Linked DNA regions of Homo sapiens: regions 2 and 3 are each linked to region 1. The links are contacts of gene promoters, found by promoter capture Hi-C in human tissues and cell types (Jung and others, 2019). All regions are on one chromosome and are shown on one strand. Each heading gives the region's core, a stretch centred on a gene start or on the middle of the fragment in contact. The rest is flanking DNA. Distances are from core to core; before and after follow the strand shown.

What was found. Contacts are between HindIII fragments. The study calls those that stand out against the background at their distance.
Region 2: a contact is called between a fragment that was not itself captured here and the fragment with the promoter of TRIM61 in region 1, in 1 of the 25 tissues and cell types used here (thymus).
Region 3: a fragment that was not itself captured here is called in contact with the fragment with the promoter of TRIM61 in region 1 in 2 of the 25 tissues and cell types used here (H1 embryonic stem cells and mesenchymal stem cells).

What each region holds. Positions count from the first base shown.
Region 1 is chr4:164,975,781-164,979,341 of GRCh38, reverse strand. TRIM61 (tripartite motif containing 61) reads left to right here and starts at 1,685. Exons shown (of 3, transcript NM_001414904.1): 1 at 1,685-1,811; 2 at 2,517-2,654. RefSeq lists enhancers at 1,407-1,466, 1,497-1,576. The HindIII fragment of the contact is 6,036 bases long and covers 1-2,191 here.
Region 2 is chr4:164,753,526-164,757,086 of GRCh38, reverse strand. SMIM31 (small integral membrane protein 31) reads right to left here and starts at 2,956. Exons shown (of 3, transcript NM_001352885.1): 1 at 2,676-2,956. The HindIII fragment of the contact is 6,494 bases long and covers 1-3,561 here.
Region 3 is chr4:164,832,366-164,835,926 of GRCh38, reverse strand. No RefSeq gene overlaps it. Among named protein-coding and RNA genes, the nearest start is that of APELA, 43 kb to the left of the region's middle. The HindIII fragment of the contact is 4,934 bases long and covers 1-3,561 here.

The sequences.
Region 1 (3,561 bases), core at 436-2,935:
CTTTATCGGTTGATTTGTCTAGGTCACACCTCTATTCAACTGTCCACCATACACCCTTTCTAGGATATATTAAAGGCATCGACGGGTCTTTATTCCACAATTCAAATCTTAGTACTTCATGTTTAAAATGCTTCACTGGCTTTTCTTTGCATTTGATAAAAACCAATATCCTCAATTTTGCCTAAAGGGCCTTGCAGCATTCATTCTCGCCTATCTCATCAGCCTCACAAAGCCATTTTCCATATTTTATACTTCTTGCAATTTCCCACGTTGTAGTGCCAACCAAATGACCTCTTTCAGTTCCTTTTGTACCAAGTTTTTAAAAATTATCATCTCTAGGCAGGGCGCGGTGGCTCACGCCTGTACTCCTAGCACTTTGGGAGGCCGAGGCGGGCGGATCACGAGGTCAGGAAATCGACACCATCCTGGCTAACACGGTGAAACCCCGTCTCCACTAAAAATACAAAAAATTAGCTGGGCGTGGTGGCAGGCACCTGTAGTCCCAGCTACTCTGGAGGCTGAGGCAGGAGAATGGCGTGAACCCGGGAGGCGGAGCTTGCAGTGAGCCGAGATCACGCAACTGCACTCCAGCCTGGGCCACAGAGCGAGACTCCGTCTCAAAAAAAAAATAAAAATAAAAATAAAATTATCATTTCTGGCTGGGTGAGGTGGCTCACGCCTGTAATCCTGGCACTTTTGGGAGGCCGAGGCGGGCGGATTGCCTGATCTCAGGAGTTCGAATCCAGCCTGGGCAACACGATGAAACCCCGTCTCTACTAAAAATACAACAACAAAAAATTAGCCAGGCGTGGCGGCGTGCGCCTATAGACCCAGCTACTCGGGAGACAGAGGCAGGAGAATTGCTTGAAACTGGGAGGCAGAGGTTGCAGAGAGCCAAGATCGCGCCACTGCACTCCAGCCTGGGCGAAAGAGAGATTCCGTCTCTTATTAAAAGAAAAAAAAATCATTTCTAAAATATTTTGTAGACGCAGGGTCTGGCAATGTTACCTAGGCTTGTCCTGAACTCCTGGCCTCAAGCGATCCTCCCACCTCTGCCTCTGAAAGTGCTTGGATTACAGGTGTGAGCCACTATGCCCGGCCTGTACTAAATTCTTTAAAGTTGAGAGGCTCCACATTGGCTCTTCTTCCAGCCTTGAAGACTTTGACCGTGGAATTGATCCAACGAATGCCTCTTCATCCCTCAAATTCCGCCTGAAATGTCACTTCCTCAGGTAAACCTGAGTTCATAGGGTAGGGCACAATCCCACAGGGTGGGAGAGATCCACCCACTCACCCACTGAGATGCAAACTAATCCAAAGGGGCTTCTATTCCTCTTTCAAGCATAGGGAGTGCTCAACGACTCCACCCTGCGACCCCAGGCTACGGGAAGCAGTTGACCCTGCAAAGCTCTCCACTCCCTCACCATCTGGGAGGGGACGCTGTGCTGGTGAAGCTTTTAAAACCAACTTGCAGACTTACTTGGACCCTCAAGTTTACTCATATACATAAAAAGTGATAAGAATCCGAAAAGACAGCCAGGGGAATTAAATGCCAGTTGGGGCCAACGGGGCCCTGATCACGGAAGAGGGCGCCCCCAGCTCTCAATCTTCACACAATCCCTGCACCCAGGGTCACAGAGCATGCGCAGGTCCTTCCCGCCCACTTCCGGGGCAACTGCCAACCACCGCGCAGGCTGAGCCCCAGGCAGGAAGCAGCCCACTTGGTGGGGTTGGGGTATGAGTCCTTCCTCGCGGGGGCTCGGTGGGTCCTGAGTATTCTTTGGCCGGATTTGCTGATCCGTCTGCTCCAGGTGAGCTGGGAAGGCCGCAGGAAAGGCCCAGAAGGGCCTCGCCAGGAGGCTTAACTGGACAGGGGCTTCTTGAACATTCTCTGTGCCTAAACCTCCGGGTCGCTGCCTGCCCACGACTGGATCTCCTTAGTGTCTGGCGTAGCTCTTGTGAAAAATTCAGGATTGTAGAGTTAGAATGGGGGTGTTGAGCCTGTATCAATTAAGCTTTAAATGTTATGATCTGAATTAGGGTTTATGAAGTGGCTATGTTATCTTCAAAGAGTTAATGTACGTGTTTGGGAGTGGGGGTTGGGGAGTTAAGGGAGCGAAGTGGTAGCTGCCAGTTGAGAACCCACCAGCCTACGTCGTCTGCACCCTCGACCTATGTAAGCATCCTGTAATCCTCACAAGGGTCTTACAGGTACGAATTATCATTTCAACTTTGTAGATGAGGCGCTTTAGGTGCAGGCATGTTAAGAATCAGCCAGTATGATGATGGTTGAAACTGAGAGCTTGGAATCTACCACAGGTTTTATTTATTCCTCAAACAAGCTAGAGACGTATTGCCACCAAGAAGCTTGCTGCCTGGTGAGGGGTTTTTACAGTTAGGTAAAGAATTGCAGAGTAGCTGTAAAATCACATAACTGTGATATGTGACATGATGGGAGCTAGGCAAAAAACTTGGACTAGATCTTAATGGATCTTTTTGCTTTGTTTTCCTTAAAGCATAGGTTCACAAAGTACAGTCCGCAGGCCAGCAGCATCATCTGGGAACTTAGGAAAAAACCAGCCCTACTGAGTCAGAAACTGGGGATGTGGCCCAGGCAATCTTTTACCAAGACCTCCAGGTGATTATAATGCAAGGTAAGATTTGAGAATTGCTTCCATAAAGTAATAAAGGACCAGTGGAATGTTTTCAGTTGAAATATGAAAGGATTCTGTTTGTATTTGAAAAGGTCAGTTTAGCTACAGACTTCAGAAATTGGAGGCACCATTGTGTATCTAGGAGAGAGACATAAGTGGTTTAAACTAGGGTGGTGACTGTGCCTACAGAGCTGTTCTGTTCACTTAATGTCCTGATTTTAAATAGTAGAGAAGACTGCTTTGGGTGTATGCTTGGGGAAAGGAGGGCACAATGATACCTGGAGTGAGTCCTCTTGTGTCCTTTATGAAGGGGTGGCCTGCCCCTCCACACCTGTGGGTATTTCTAGTCGGGTGGGACGAGAGACTGAGAAAAGAAATAAGACAGAGACAAAGTATAGAGAAACAACAGTGGGCCCAGGGGACCGGCGCTCAGCATACCAAGGACCTGCACCGGCACCGGCCTCTGAGTTCCCTCAGTTTTTATTGATTATTATTTTCATTATTTCAGCAAAAAGGAATGTAGTAGGAGAGCAGGGTTATAATAAGGAGAAGGTCAGCAACAAACATGTGAGCAATAGAATCTATGTCATAATTAAGTTCAAGGGAAAGTACTATGACTGGACGTGCACGTAAGCCAGATTTATGTTTCTCTCCACCCAAACATCTCAGCGGAGTAAAGAATAACAAGTCAGCATTACTGCAAACATGTCTCGCCTCCCACCATAGGGCGGTTTTTCTCCTATTTCAGAATTGAACAAAGGTACAATCAGGTTTTATACCAAGACATTCAGTTCCCAGGGGCAGGCAGCAGACCGTGGCCTTCCTCCATCTCAACTGCAAGAGGCTTTCCTCTTTTACTAATTCACCTCAGCACAGACCCTTTACGGGTGTCAGGCTGGGGACAGTC
Region 2 (3,561 bases), core at 314-2,813, 220 kb after region 1:
AACCCTAAGAGTGGCAAAGATGTGTAGTAACTGAAATGCTCATACAATGTTAGGGTGTTAAAATGATACAATTCCTTTGAAAAAAATCTCTGGAAGTCTTTTATAAAATAAACTATAACTACAGTATGACCTAGAAGTTCCACTTCTGGGTATTTACACAACAGACTGAAAACATATGTTCAGAGAAACACTTATCTCCCATAGCAGGCTTATTCATACTAGCCAAGAATTGGACAAAACTCAGGCGTCCATTGACAAGAGAATGGATACACAAATTACATATTTACATAATGGAATCCTACTCAACATTAAAAAGAACGATTTTGTGATACATACAAGACAAATGAATCTGAAGAAAACATTGAACATACATACTATGTAGAGAGGAAGATTGTTTACATCTGGAGGCAGGGGTAGAACTTGATTAGGTAAAAGGAAAGAGCATTCTAGATCTGGAGCCATATTGATGTTCTCTATATCTTTTTATTTGTTTATATTATTATTATTTTTTTTTTGAGACAGAGTCTCGCTCTGTCCCCCAGTCTCGAGTGCAGTGACGTGATCTCGCCTCACTGCAAGCTCCGCCTCCCAGGTTCATGCCATTCTCCTACCTCAGCCTCCTGAGTAGCTGGAACTACAGGCGCCCACCACCACACCTGGCTAATTTTTTTTGTATTTTTAGTAGAGACAGTGTTTCACCATGTTAGCCAGGATGGTCTTGATCTCCTGACCTTGTGATCCGCCTGCCCCAGCCTCCCAAAGTGCTGGGATTACAGGCGTGAGCCACCGCACCCGGCCTATTATTACTTTTTAAAGTTTCCTTTTTAAAGAAATTTTACTTTAAGTTCTGGGATACATGTGCAGAGATGTTCTCTATATCTTGACGGGGGTTTGGATTACATAGATGTACATATCCATTAAAATTCATTGAATCATAACACTAATGATTTGTGCATTTCACTCTAATTGAATTTTATCTCAAGAAAATAGTTAAACAAATATTGACTTCTAGTTAGTGATATACTTTCCTAAATGTTTAGGGGTAAAGTTTACTGAGGTCTTCAACTTTAAAAGGTATCATAAAAATAAAGAAGGTGAATCAGTGGACGTACAGAGAGATGATAATATGTAAAGAAGCCAATATAGCAAAATGCTAATTGTACAATCTACATGGAAGGCATTTGGATGTTCATGATACAATTATTTCAATTTTTCTCTATGTTTGAACAATTTTCATAACAACGTGTTGGGAACTAAAAGGCTTTGCTACTACTGCATTCCAAAGAATTTTTTAAATTGTTGATGATGTAATTGCTAGTCTCTGTCCCACCAGAGACTGGTGTGAAACTGGGTGTGTTTTTTATATTTTATCACATGGGACAAAAGGCAAATCAATAACATCAGTTTCATTCAATTTCAATTTTCAAGGCATATCCCATAATACTTCAGCTCAGATTTGCAGGTTGAATATCTAGAACAACACAATGCTGGCCACAGATTTCCCTCCCCTCCCCTCCCCTCCCCTCCCCTCCCCTCCCCTCCCCTCCTCTCCTCTCCCTCCCTTCCCCTCTCCTCCCCCCTCCTTTCCTCTCCTTTCCTTTCTGTTTGAGACAGAGTCTCCCTCTGTAGCCCAGGCTGGAGTGCAGTGGCGTGGTCTCAGTTCATGGTAACCTCCGCCTCCTGGGCTCAAGTGATTCTCCTGCCTCAGCCTCCCGAGTAGCTGGGATTACAGGCACACACCACCGTGTCCAGCTAATTTTTGCATTTTTAGTAGAGACAGGGTTTCACCGTTTTGGCCAGGCTGGTCTTAAACTCCTGACCTCAAGTGATCTTCCTGCCTTGGCCTCCCAAAGTACTGGGATTACAGGCATGAGCCACCGTGCCTGGCTGTGGCTGTGGATGATAGAAAAATATTTCTAATTAAATTAAATCATACGACTTCACTCAGTTCTTATACTTTTCTACTGCTGAAAATATGATACCATATTTTGGTGAAAGCAAGAAATAATTTCAAAGGAAATATTTTTAAGGGATGTAGTTAAATAATTATTTATTTTAAGTTTAAGGCTAAAAGCAGATAAATGACAGTATTTCCTCCTGAGTATTTCTAAAGGCTTTTAATAACATAAATCTGATGATAGAAAAATATTTCTATCATACTCAGGAGGAAATACCGTCATTTATCTGCTTTTAACCTTAAACTTAAATAATTATTTAACTACATCCCTTAAAAATATTTCCTTTGAAATTATTTCTTGCTTTCACCAAAATATGGTACCATACTTTCAGCATAGAAAAGTATAAGAACTGAGTGAAATCGTATGATTTAATTTAATTTGGTTAATTCTACCTTGGAATTAAATACAAATACATATCTTCTGGCTTTGGAAAAAAACAAAACTAGGACAAATAAACCAAACATAGCAAAAGAGAAGAAAAATATTCTGAGGGGGAGTTGTTCTACAAAACAGAAAATTTTCCTTCCCTCTTTAGCCATTTTTTTTAACAGCAAAAAAAAAAAAAAAAAAAAAAAAATACCTCCAGGAAAGAACAATAAGTAAAATTTCTTAGCTGTGGCAGTTAAATATTACATTTCTAGTCCATATGAATTAGTTAAAAAAAAAAAAGAGAGAGAGTTTTGAGGTAAATAAAATAGGGGATTTATAAAAACTTACCAGAAGCATTCCTGTCCCTGAGAGTGGCTAGGAAGGAACCCGTGAGTCTGATTCAAACAGAGTCTTCAGTGTCTTGGGATTCGGGACTGAATGGCCTGTGTCTGTTAATGAACATTTTCACTGAACGCTACCAGGCCATGAAAATGTAGGCACTTCCTGATGCCACTTCACTAACCAAGGCTTACTAATGTCTTAGCTGGAGTTTTAATCAGGACTTGACTAAGAGGAATCTGTACCTCTAAAAAAGAAAATCTTCCCTTGTGAAGGATCAAGAAGGAAACAGGAAACTGTAATGAAACGTAGTTATTTACTTTTTCTGTCACCCAACCATCTGTAAATACCACTACTATACACAGTTCTGAGCAAACAAAGATTGTGCTTTGGCTGACAGTCAAGAAATTCAACAGGTGGTTTATAGGAGTGACGTGTCTGAACATAGGTCAATTTCTATAGTATTCTTTAATGTCTTTAGTGATAACAGGCAAGCCGAACACGAGAGTTTGATAAACAATTTTCAACCATAGTTTATCTTGGGACTTCACAGCTACTTGTCAGCTTTTGTCTTCGGTTTTTTTTTTTGAGACGGACCCTCGCTCTGTCACCCAGGATGGAGTGCAGTGGTGTGATCTCAGCTCACTGCAACCTCTGCCTCCCAGGTTCACGCCATTCTCCTGCCTCAGCCTCCTGAGTAGCTGGGACTACAGGGGCCTGCCACCATGCCTGGCTAATTTTTTGTATTTTCAGTAGAGACAGGGTTTCACCATGATAGCCAGGACAGTCTCAACCTCCTGACCTCATGATCCACCCACCTCAGCCTCCCAAAGTGCTGGGATTACAGGTGTGAGCCACTGTGCCTGGCCTTGTCTTGGTTTTTATTGTTGCCTAT
Region 3 (3,561 bases), core at 708-3,207, 140 kb after region 1:
AAAAGACTAATAGCACTATAAAGATTCTTGTCCAATACAATTTTGTCCAGTAGATATGTGAATGATTTCTGTCCTATAGAAAAAATAACTCAAAGGTTGCATGTGTATTGCCCTGTAGGGCATTAACTCATTTTATATCTAATTTAGCGGTTTTATTCATCACACTTCCTTTCAGGAGCTATACACATGGCCTCTCCTATCACCCTTTGGGTTTGCTTTACCACCTTGCTAATTCCCGCATTAATGGTTTCCTCTTTAAATACATCTTTGGCACCTGCTCACTTTATATTTGTATGAGCCATATTTTTAGTTTTTGTAAAGTAGACTTTGTCAAATTCCAATGACTACCCTTTTAAAAGTCTTATTTAAAATATCTATATTTAGAATATACCAGGCGTTACATCCTTAGCAACTTTAAGAAGTCACAATGAAACATTTTAAATGTCAATTGAAAAATGTGTAGGCCGGGCATGGTGGCTCACGCCTGTAATCCCAGCACTTTCGGAGGCCAAGGCAGGCAATCACTTGAGATCCTTTGGGAGGCTGAGGCAGGTGGATCACTTGGGCAGGCTAGGAGTTGAAGACTAGCCTGGCCAACATGGCAAAACCCTGTCTCTACAAAAAATATAAAAAATTAACTGGACAGGGTGGTGCGTGCCTGTAGTCCCAGCTACTCGGGAGGCTGAGACACGAGAATTGCTTGATCCAGGGAGGTGGAGGTTTCAGTGAGCTAAGATCATGCCACAGCACTGCAGCCTGTGTGACAGAGCGAGACCTTGTCTCAAAAAAAAAAAAAAAAGTAAAGACATAATTTAAAAAAATTATCTTAGAGTGTATTTTAGGAAAAAAAAATGTCCTGGGTGATTATTTCATTACTTCTTATGCCTTAAGCTTTCAACACCTTCTTCCCTTCCTCTTAATCATTCTCAGTTTTGACTTTGCTTCTTTATTATTTCACTGATTAAAATGGGAGCACTCACAGAGAAAATCTGCCACATCTCTTCGCCGTCCACCTCAGTCTGTGTAGACTGTTCTTTTCTGATGCTCCTAGCCTGTTGCTACGCTCCCGCCTGTCAGTCTGGTGCTGTTCATTATTGTGTTCACGCAATGATGGTCTTCCGAATCTAGAGCCAACACTTTCCGTGTCTGTCTACTGTAGCTTTCATAGTTAAAATTTTCATTTATGTAACAATCCTCATTTATTAACATATCTTCATAATATTAACATTTTTAGAGATGACAAATAAAAGGTCATGAGTTGAAAGAATCAGAGTGTATGTGTGTTTGTGTGTATTTGTGTATATATGTGTGAAAAAGAGATTTTGCTAGGGAAAGAGCAAATGACAGAAAATATTTATTCATTTCTTAATTATTATTTTATTTTTATTATTTTTTAATTTTTTGTTTGCTTGTTTTATGAGACAGTGTCTCACTCTGTCACCCAGGCTGAAGTGCAGTGGCATGATCTTAGCTCACTGCAACCTCCGCCTCCTGGGTTCAGGAGATCCTCCTGCCTCAGCCTCCTGAGTAGCTGGGACTACAGGTGCACGCCACCATGCCTGGCTAATTTTTGTATATATTTTTTTGGTAGAGATGGGGTTTTGCCAGGTTGTCCAGGAGGGTCTCCAACTCCTGGGCTCAAGCAATCCACCTGCCTCCACCTCCCAACGTGCTGGGATTACAGGCGTGAGACACTGCACCAGGCCAGTATTTATTCATTTCCGAAGATTGGGACAGAGACATAGAAGTCAACTTTTATTTCAGATTTCACTCTTTCTACTAAATGTTTATATTCTAATTATAAAAGCAAATTGAAAGGAAAATTGGCATAAATAAATAAATTTTCCCATCATCCTTTGTACCCCGACCCCATTCTGCCCTTAGGTCCATCAGACTATGAAATTCCCTCGCCAGGTACCTTGTCTTATTACTCTTGCTCTATTGCTCAGGCTGGAATCTTGCCTTGTCACCCAGGCTGGAGTGCAGTGGTGTGATCTTGGCTCACTCCTGGGTTCAAGCAATTCTCCTGTCTCAGGATCCCGAGTAGCTGGGATTACAAGCCCGCACCATCACGTCCAGCTAATTTTTGTTTTAGTAGAGACGGGGTTTCACCATGTTGGCCAGGCTGGTCTCGAACTCCTGACCTCAGGTGATCCACTCACCTCGGCCTTCCAAAGTGCTGGGATTACAGGCGTGAGCCACTGTGCCCAGCCTCCTTGTCTTATTACTCTTGGTGTCTGCCCAGTTTCTGTGCCTAACACACAGTTGTTGTTCAGAAAATATTTGCTAAATGAATAAATGTATTAACTTATTTCAATCACTTTTTATACATTATCTTGTAAAGTGAGGAAATTTGTATTTTTAAAATTTATTCAACACATTTATTATATTTTTACTATATTTTAGCCATTTGGATAGATCCTGGGATTGGATTCAATGGTGAACAAAGACAAACATGGCTTAGTAATGGTCTGCATATTCAGGGCTCATAAATTCCAAGATACAGGCTAGATGAATTATTTTATGCTGTAACTCAATAGACGTGATGAAAACTCACAGCTGGAAGGAAGTTTAGGTAGAATCTAATCTAATGGGCTTATTTCATAGATGAGGTAACTGAAGTCAAGAAAGTTTAAGTGATTTGCTCTTATATCATACAATTGCAGCTCATATCATAGCTGTGAACTCCCTTCCATGGCTTTATCCACCAACATTCATCTTGTTGCCAAGCATTCGAATATGTAGGCAAGCTTTTTGTTGTTGTTAATAAATGGATTCTTGTGAATTGTGAATTGTTTGCATCTGAATTTAATACAACCTTTAACTTTCAGGTTCACGTGGTCATCTGTTCTTTGCAACTTGTCATTTATAGAGTATTTATGATAATATCTTCATTTGGGAAATTAGATGAGCTGTGTTCCTTGGAAGTGCTTCAGAAATGCTGATTCATTTCAAAAAGAAACACTTGATTAATCTGTTGCAGCAGCAGTGGGCAAACTATAGACCACAGGCCAAATCTGGCCTGATACTTATTTTTGTACAATTCAAGAGCTAAGAATGATTTTTATGTTTTTGAATAGTTAAACATGAAAAGAAGAGTAGTATTTTCTGACATTTGAAAATAACATGAAATGCAAATTTTAGAATCCATTATTACAGTTTTATCAGAATGCAGCCATGTGCATCTGTTTAAGTGTTGTCTATGGCTGCCTTCTGAGTACAACAGCAAAGTGAAATAGTTGCAACAGAAACTATATGGCACTCAAAGCTTAAAATATTTATCATGGTGGGCGCACTGGCTCACGCCTGTAATCCCAGCACTCTGGGAGGCCGAGGTGGGCAGATCACTGAGGCCAGGAATTTGAGACCAGCCTGGCCAACATGGCAAAACCCTGTCTCTACTAAGAATACAAAAATTAGCTGGGTGTGGTGGCACATGCCTGTGGTCTCAGTTACTCGGGAGGCTGAGGTAGGAGAATCGCTTGAATTCAGGAGGTGGAGGTTGCAGTGAGCCAAGATGACACTACTGCACTCCAGCCTGGGCAACAGAGCCAGACTCTG